3 separate regions of the Homo sapiens genome follow, and regions 2 and 3 are each linked to region 1. Evidence: promoter capture Hi-C in 16 types of primary human blood cells and fetal thymus (Javierre and others, 2016). All regions are on one chromosome and are shown on one strand. Each heading gives the region's core, a stretch centred on a gene start or on the middle of the fragment in contact. The rest is flanking DNA. Distances are from core to core; before and after follow the strand shown.

The links. The method cuts DNA at HindIII sites, captures the fragments that hold promoters and counts their contacts. A CHiCAGO score of 5 or more calls a contact.
Region 2: a contact is called between a fragment that was not itself captured here and the fragment with the promoter of CNRIP1 in region 1, in 10 of 17 cell types (M0 macrophages, erythroblasts, endothelial precursors and 7 more). The highest score is 8.2, in M0 macrophages.
Region 3: a contact is called between a fragment that was not itself captured here and the fragment with the promoter of CNRIP1 in region 1, in 1 of 17 cell types (erythroblasts). The highest score is 5.4, in erythroblasts.

Annotation. Positions count from the first base shown.
Region 1 is chr2:68,318,600-68,321,301 of GRCh38, reverse strand. It overlaps CNRIP1 (cannabinoid receptor interacting protein 1), which reads left to right and starts at 1,353. Exons shown (of 3, transcript NM_015463.3): 1 at 1,353-2,080. The coding sequence starts at 1,902. The HindIII fragment of the contact is 3,613 bases long and covers 1,229-2,702 here.
Region 2 is chr2:68,124,362-68,127,063 of GRCh38, reverse strand. It overlaps the pseudogene PPIAP64. Among named protein-coding and RNA genes, the nearest start is that of DNAAF10, 32 kb to the left of the region's middle. The HindIII fragment of the contact is 2,103 bases long and covers 324-2,426 here.
Region 3 is chr2:68,177,375-68,180,076 of GRCh38, reverse strand. PPP3R1 (protein phosphatase 3 regulatory subunit B, alpha) reads left to right here. Exons shown (of 6, transcript NM_000945.4): 6 at 1-1,220. Among named protein-coding and RNA genes, the nearest start is that of PNO1, 21 kb to the right of the region's middle. The HindIII fragment of the contact is 4,701 bases long and covers 1-2,702 here.

The DNA.
Region 1 (2,702 bases), core at 104-2,603:
TTTTAAATGACCCCAAAAAGATACTCACCCTCTTTCCACTACTCATAAACCATAATAACCAACATTAAGTTTACTGTGTAACTCTCTCATTCTTTTAAAAGAGCTAATACAAACATACACATTTATATTCTTTTTAAATTTTCATTTTTCTAAAACACTAGAGATGCTACTTGCAATTAGATTTCTTTTCATCATTCCAGGTAAATCGCAAGGATCTAATTAATTTTAAAGATGTGAAAGAATTTACATATGGACATGATTAAGACCACAACCGTAAGTCAATTCAACAACGATTTCTGGAGCACCTACTATGTGTCAGGCACTATTTTGGCATGCTGGGGAAACAGCAACAAACAAAACAGACAAAATGCTCGCCCTCAGGCTTTGTTTCCCAGCCATCCCACTTTTATCATTAACAGTTTTTGCCTGTGTGTTTGCCAATGCAACCTATATTTCATTATTTTGATAGTTGTGTAACGTTCTATAGTGTGGGTATATAAGAATTTATTCAGCCATTTATTTATTGGTTAACATTTCATTTAGGTTTTATTTTTATTTTTGCAACCAATGTTGCAATAAACACCCATATTACATATATATTATATGTATAGCTTATTATTTCTTAAAAAAGAGCAGTCTAACTTGGGTAAACAAAAACTGCCAAGGAAACGCATCCCTACCCATTTGTTCTCACTAGCCCACTTCATTTCCCAGGTGTGCTCCCTGGCTCTGGTACTATCCATCTGGGTGGTGCTGAAGCAGGTGCTCTCTCTGCTCCGGGAAGCCATTCCCAGTATAGTCCTCACCCCCTGAGTCTCCCCTCGCTTCCAAAAGTCAGCTGTCTACCGACCTCTGCCACGAAAACTGTCTAATCACGCTTAATATGCAAATCTAAACTCTGCGGTGTCGCATATGGCCCCCTGCCAATAATCCTTTGACCCATCCCACCTCTTGGCCATTTTGTCACCAGAATGCCTTAGGCTCATGTCAGTTGCCTTTTACAGGGTTAATAGCTCACCCTTCAAAATCTGTGTAAATATATGTGATTCATTACATATATTTATGTATGTGTCATTTTTGGGACGAGCATACGTATAATGGAAATGTACACCCACAAGAAGATGTAGCTCCTTGAATATGGTTATTTTCTTCCTCTTGCATCCATTCCTCATCCAGCGTGGCTCCATCACGTGGAATTGCGCCTTTCCTCGGCCATTTCCCCTAAGCTTTGGAAAGACTCATATTTCCTGAAATTTAAATCACCGGCTAGCGGTTTCCTGTCCCCCCTTCCCGCCTCCCTTTACCCCCCCTCAGCCTCCTCCCGCCTGGCTGGCGCCGGATCCGCGAGCAGCAGTGTCCACCTCACGTAGCTGGCCGAGGCGGTATCCAGATTCCGGGGGTCTCGCTCCTTGGCATAGTGGTCGCTTAACTCCAGCGCCTTCCCAGTGCCTCCCAAACCTCTCCTCCTCCTGCCCGGGGCTGTTCTAGGAGGAGCCTAAATGTCCGCTTCCCCAGCTGAAGGGGATTGTGGTGCGTAAACAGGATTAACTCCCTCGCCCCCAGCTGCGCGGATCTGCGCGGCGGCCTGCGGGCCAGAGCGAGCCTTCGGGTGCGTGGAGGGCGCAGCACTGGAGCGGGGGATGGGGAAGCGCGCGGCCTTGGAGCCGTCTCTTGGGCCCGCTTCCTCGCCGAGTGGGGAGGGGGGCCACAGCCTAAGGAGCTGCTCCTCAAAAGCCCGGGCGGACGGCGGCGACGGCGCGGGTTCCTAGCGGCAGCCTCAGCTCCACCACCTCCCTCACCCTCCCCGCGCTTCCTCTCCGCCCCTCGCGCTCCAGCCACTCGGCCGCAGCCGGCGCTGTCCTCCGCCCCCCGGAGCCGCCGCGCCAGACCCTCGCCCAGACATGGGGGACCTGCCGGGCCTCGTGCGCCTCTCCATCGCGCTGCGCATCCAGCCTAATGACGGCCCGGTCTTTTACAAGGTGGACGGGCAGCGCTTCGGCCAGAACCGCACCATCAAGCTGCTCACCGGCTCCTCCTACAAGGTTGAGGTGAAGATTAAACCCAGCACGCTGCAGGTCGAGTGAGTGCGGGGCGCCTGGTGGCAGCAGGGTCCCCCATGGGGTACAGGCAGAGGACTGAGGCCCCCAGGACAGCCCGAGCCTCTCAAGGGCCTCTGGCCTCGCGCCGCTCCCAGCGGGCCCGGGGGTTGGAGGAAGAGGTCACTCCCTGTCCGCCTTCGTCCCCTTCCTTCCCTTTGGCTTGTATTCCTCCATTCTCGCTTCCCTCCACCCATCGCAGTGACCTCAGTGGGTTCTTTAAAATCAGTGACAAGAAGCCAGGGTTTTTGCTTGTCTGTTTCTTATAAATTTCTCCTGCCTTCTGTCCAGCCTTGGGCGCGGAACCGCAGGCGGTCGGGGTGGAGCAGATGGGAGAGGTCCGCAGGGTTCAGCCACCGCAATCCCAGCCCTCCTGCGCGCGGTCCAGGCGGCCCACAGGGTCTGCCCGCAAGGCTGAAGGAGGGAGAAAGGAGGAATGAGGTGGAAAGGCAGGGGAGGGGTGATTACTGGGGCTCCCTGAGGGATGCTCCCCACTCCCTTCGCCATTCAGTGGCTGGGACCCTGGGGTGGAGCAGCAGACACTAGTAAGAGAGCGGCCGCCCCTTCTCTGGCCTAGTTTCACGGTTTTCCATGCCGTATGCTGTT
Region 2 (2,702 bases), core at 126-2,625, 190 kb after region 1:
ACTGGACTCCAGCCTGTGCGACAGAGTGAGACCCCCATCTCAAAAAACAGAAAAAAAAAAAAAAAAAAAAAAAAAAAAGCATGTGAGACTTGAAATACTGTGGCTAGTTTTGGAAAAGACAATCTGGTGTAGTGATTATAAGATGCATCCTAATTTCAAAGATGCATAAATGGGCAGAAGGATGTGCTCATTTGAATTGATGAAATACATTGCTTCAAATGCAGATACTCCTATCCCATCTACGTACACCCTTCCCTTCCCCTAATTTATTGCAGACATGACTAATCAATCATGCCACTCATTCTTCCTGAGCCTCAGAAGCTTTATCACACTCTGCTAGGAGCCACTACCAACTGCTGGCAAGTGAGATAAAATGGGTTTACTCTCCTGAATCTAGAGAATGATGCCCTGTGAAAAACAGGTAGCCTCCTGGACCAGGAGTCATTGGACTCTCCTCTCTCCTAATCCGTGGCTTTGTGTTTCAGTATGCCAAGAAATGATGAGGCTCTCCAGCACTAGACCATGTAAACCAAACTGATGCAAAAACCAAAATGGCGCATCATTCATATGTAGTGAGGGATGAACCCTTAGGTGCCAAAATGCCTAGGTTTGCCAAATGAGAACCTTGTTCATCTCCATTTATCTGAGATTCTGTGTAATTGTTTTGAAGTCTTTCTGTGAGAGTGGAATTAGAGACAGGTGTTGACAGTATTTAAAATAATGCATCCAGACCTTAGCGAAGCCTAAAAAAAAACAACCGTCTCAGAACCCTGAAGCTCTAGGCTATTGTGCAATTTTTACTGCAAATATGTTTCCATTCTTTAACTTACAGCACTTCGCTAAGTGTGGTGGTAAATTATAGAGTGTTTTAGTAAGGGATTTCTGGAATAATTCTTATGGGGTGGCCTGGAACCTTCCAGGGAAATGCTACTTTGTAATTAGTTTTTCTTTTTTCCTTTGGCCACCAGACTGTCCTCTAAAGTAAGTGAAACATGCAGGCTTCGGATATGAAGCTGGGTTGTGCAACCTGATTATAACAGCAATCTGCAATCAGGCGCTATGGCTCGTTTGAAAAATATGTGGGCAATTGGCTTTTAGCTATGCTTTTGTTGCTGTTGTTATTATTTAGTTTTTATTTCATAATCATAAACTTAACTCTGCAATCCAGCTAGGCATGGAAGGGAATAAGGAAAGCATGGAACTGCAGCGGGAGTACAAAGATTCTAGGATACTACGAGCAAATGGGGTGGAGGGGTGCTCTCCTGAGCTACAGAAGGAATGGTCTGGTGGTTAAGACAAAACACAAGTCAAACTGATTAGAGTTGTCCACAGTCAGCGATGGTGATCTTGCTGGTCTTGCCATTCCTGGACCCAAAGTGCTCCATGGCCTCCACAATATTCATGCCTTCTTTCACCTTGCCATAGACTACATGGTTGCCATCCAACCACTCAGTCTTGGCAGTGCAGATGAAAAACTGGGAACCATCTGTGTTGGGTCCAGCGTTTGCTATGGACAAGATGCCAGGACCTTTATGCTTCAGGATGAAGTTCTCGTCATCAAATTTCTCCCCATAGATGGACCAGTGCCATTATGGCGTGTGAAGTCACCACCCTGACACATAAACCCTGGAATAATTGTGTGAAAGCAGGAACCCTTATACCCAAATCCTTTCTCTCCAGTGCTCAGAGCACAGAAGTTTTCTGCTGTCTTTGGAATCTTGTCTGCAAACAGCTTGATGGAGATGCGGCCCAAGGGCTCACTGTCGATGGCAATTTCTAAGAACACGGTGGAGTTGACCACGCTGGTAGTACAGGGCTTCCGGTGGCGTTGGCATCTGCTAGCTATGTTTTTTTAAAAGGCAGGTTGGTTATGCTTACCCAGGAAACCTCTATCTCCGAATGTCTGGCCACTCTCACTGTGTTGTGGAGCCCCACCTCCCTGCTTTGGATGAGACTAGACTGCCAGGCGCCATTCTCAGGGCCATACCCAGCAGTCCCAATAAAACGGGGCTTAATGCTGCTCTGAGAGCTTGGGGGCACTGGGCCCATGCTGCACTCAGACTTATCAGGACCTGCTAACAGAAGTCCTGTGCATTGTCCAACCAGCTGAGGACTCAGGGCTGCTAGGACAATGTCCTCTATTATTCCACCCTAAGTACCTGCATATTGCCTGGAGTGGTGAGAAATTCTTTACTCATCCATTTTCCCTACTGGGTCTAGGATGGACAAATGGCAGTATGAAAACTGTGAATCTTTGTTACTGTGTAGGGATCTAGAGGCTAAACCCTTGTCCTCAACCCCAGAACCAGAAAAATGGTTATTAATCAGGACAGCACAGTGAAAGCAGATGCAGATTATCCTCACAGTGCATGGCCATTAATGCAGTTGTCCATAGGTTTTGTATATTTTACATCAAACATCAAGCTTGAATGAAGGAACAGGATTTTGACTTTGTGTTTTTAACTTGAAGCATGAGATTCTAGGTAAAAGGGCTGTGACCAAGTACAGCTGCATTTATACAGTCATGGTGGAGGAATTTTATGAAGGATTCTTTAACAACTGAACTTTGCTTATGGTGTTCTGATCCAACTCTATCCCTAAGCCAACTTAAAACCAGATCACTCAGCAATACCCTTTATACAACACTTTTTTATTTTAATTGAGACTGAGTCTTGCTCTGTCACCCAGGAAGAGTGCAGTGG
Region 3 (2,702 bases), core at 145-2,644, 140 kb after region 1:
ATTGATTGTATGTATCACTTACTGAAGAATACCTGAAGTGATCATGTAACTACTTATAAGGGATATCCATTTGTTTGATTACATGGGTAAATAATTTGTCATTAAACTTGTGTTTGAATCATGAATTCCCTTGTTTCAAAAGACTTGCAGCTAATCTAAAAAACTGGTGATATTTAATATGCATGTATGTATCTAAACACCCACATATATTTGTGGTTTAAGTGTGAGAAATCTTGCTAATCTATATGCCACAGAAGAGCAAAATTGTATCCAAATTTATGCCACTTAAATTTCTTTACCACGAGGGATAGAGCATGCATACTGGTTTTTTTTTCTTGATTTGCCCATATAATTGGTAATGGATAACTTAATAAATTTGTGTGATATAAAAGTAGTGTATCATGTTCTACTGTTTGATCTTATCCCTTCCCATTTCTGCAAAGGTACTGTTAGCTGGAAGAAAAACATTTTGGTTAGCTTTGTATGACAGTAGTCTTTCCCTTTATAGTTTCTCTATAAAAACTGGTTTTAAAATCAGTGGAAAAGGGCAGGTTGAATCAAGGTGAATCAATCTGAAATTGAGCACACCTGCCTGCCATCGCTGTTCCTTCAACTGAGTGCTGCACATCATGGGCTCTGTCTGTGAGAGAAAAATCCCGGTGCTTGGTGTCCTTGCATGACATGGAGTTTTGCATGTAGATCAATTTAAAATGTACCTCTTGTTTACATAATTTGCATAATTTTAAAAGATAATGTTGCCAAACTTTGGAAATGTTAATGTTCAGACTGAAAATCTCCACTACATGTAACTTTCTTCCTCTGGATCAGTGGCATGGCTTATAATCCCAGCCAGTGGTTTGAACTGTTCCAGTGTCAACTGCCATGTGCTCTGCTTCAAGGGGGAACTAGCCTTTTGTGAATTTTTTGTACATAAGTATTTGTTACAAATATTTTAGCAAATGCTTTCTATTTCTCTTGCTTGTGCATATCTTGGCTGGCGTTACAGAAAAATAGTGTAAACATTATTTCCTTACCGGGGAATGAGGGTTTTTTCTTTTTCTTTTTTTTTTTTTTTTTTTTTAGTTTGTGTGTGGGGGTGGGTAAGGGAGGGGATGGTTTATGTTGAATGTTTAGTTTTTCTTCTGCATGATACGTCATGTTGTGGGATCTTTAGAAAACTTCATACTGTATGAATAAGAAAATAAAATATTTGAAACTTGCTTGAATGTATTCAGTGGTCTTTGATGGTTTCCATAGCTATGAGAATTTTTTTTCCTCTCAGGCTTTTAAATTCTTAAAAACAGTCTGGTAAAGTGACATTTAATCTCTATAAAAACCTACAAATTCCTGTAGTACTCTCCCATCACCTCCTGCCATGACTTCCCTTACTGCTACCCCTCTCTCTACTCCAGCCATGTTAGCCTCCGGTGGTACCTGGAGTCTTGGGTTTGTGTCTCTTAGGCCCTTGCGCTATCAGTCCCTTTTTGCCCCTTTCCTTTCCCAGTATCTCATAGCTAATGCCTTCAGGTGTTTGTTCAGTTACAGCCTAGCTCAAAAGGAACTGTCCTGGCTACCCTATTAAAAAATACAGATACGCCTGGCTCTTCTTTCCTCCTCTATATTTTTCCTTCTACAATGGCATTTATTCTTTTCTGACACAGTTTACTTACGTATTTTGTATTCCCTGACTACTGAATAAAATGAAAGCTCCAAAAGGGTAGTGATTTGTCTCTTGTTCACTGATAGCCCCAGCCCAGTTGTCCAGAGTATTACCTAGCTCTTAGTGTTTACCCAATAAATAATTAATAAATTAATGTGATACCCTGTTTATGCAGGTTGTGATTTTATAATAAATGCTATTCAGTATTTTTAAAAGGTAAAATTGGCATTTCTTGAGATTACATTTACTTGGTAACTTTGCTTTCATTTATTCAACTTTACAGTCCCTACTACATGTCCATCACTGTAATAGGCACTTGAGATGCTCTGGCAAATGACATCCCTGGGCCAGATAAGTTGGGGATGTTTTATATCCAGAACACCTGTATCACCAGATGTGCACTAGTTACAATGGGTTCTGTGACTTGTTAAAACATCCCAGGAGTAAAGGTTTGTTAGACCTAAGCAAGTAGATGGATTTAAGGCCCAGAGCTCCTTTTCTTTTTTTTGAGACAGGGTCTTGTTCTGTTCATCTGGGCTGGAGTGCAGTGGGATGATCACAGCTCACTGCAGTCTCAGTCTTCTGGGGTCAAGCAATCCTCCCACCTCAGCCTCCAGAGTAGCTGGAACCACAGATGCATGCCAGTACCTGGCTGTTTTTGTTTTGTTAAGACAGGGTGTTGTTATGTTGCCAGGCTGGTCTTGAACTCCTGGGCTCAAGCGATCCTCCCATGTTGGCCTCCCAGTGTTGGGATTACAGGCTTAAGCCACCACACCCGGCCCTTTTTTTAAACCTACTTCTAACAGTCTTAGAAGTAGACAAGATGACTATCCAAGGAGCATGAGCTTTCTTGCATACCATTCCTAGTTCTAGGTGGCATGAGAGTTGGAGCCCAGCTCTTCAGGAGCGAGTGACTAGGAGGAAACTCCATGGGTCTCTTGCCAGCCACGAATACCTAAGAAAATGCTCTTCTCTCAGGCCCATCTCCCAGGCAATGTATCAGTGAATACATATGTAAAGTGTATGTCAGAAAATCGTACCA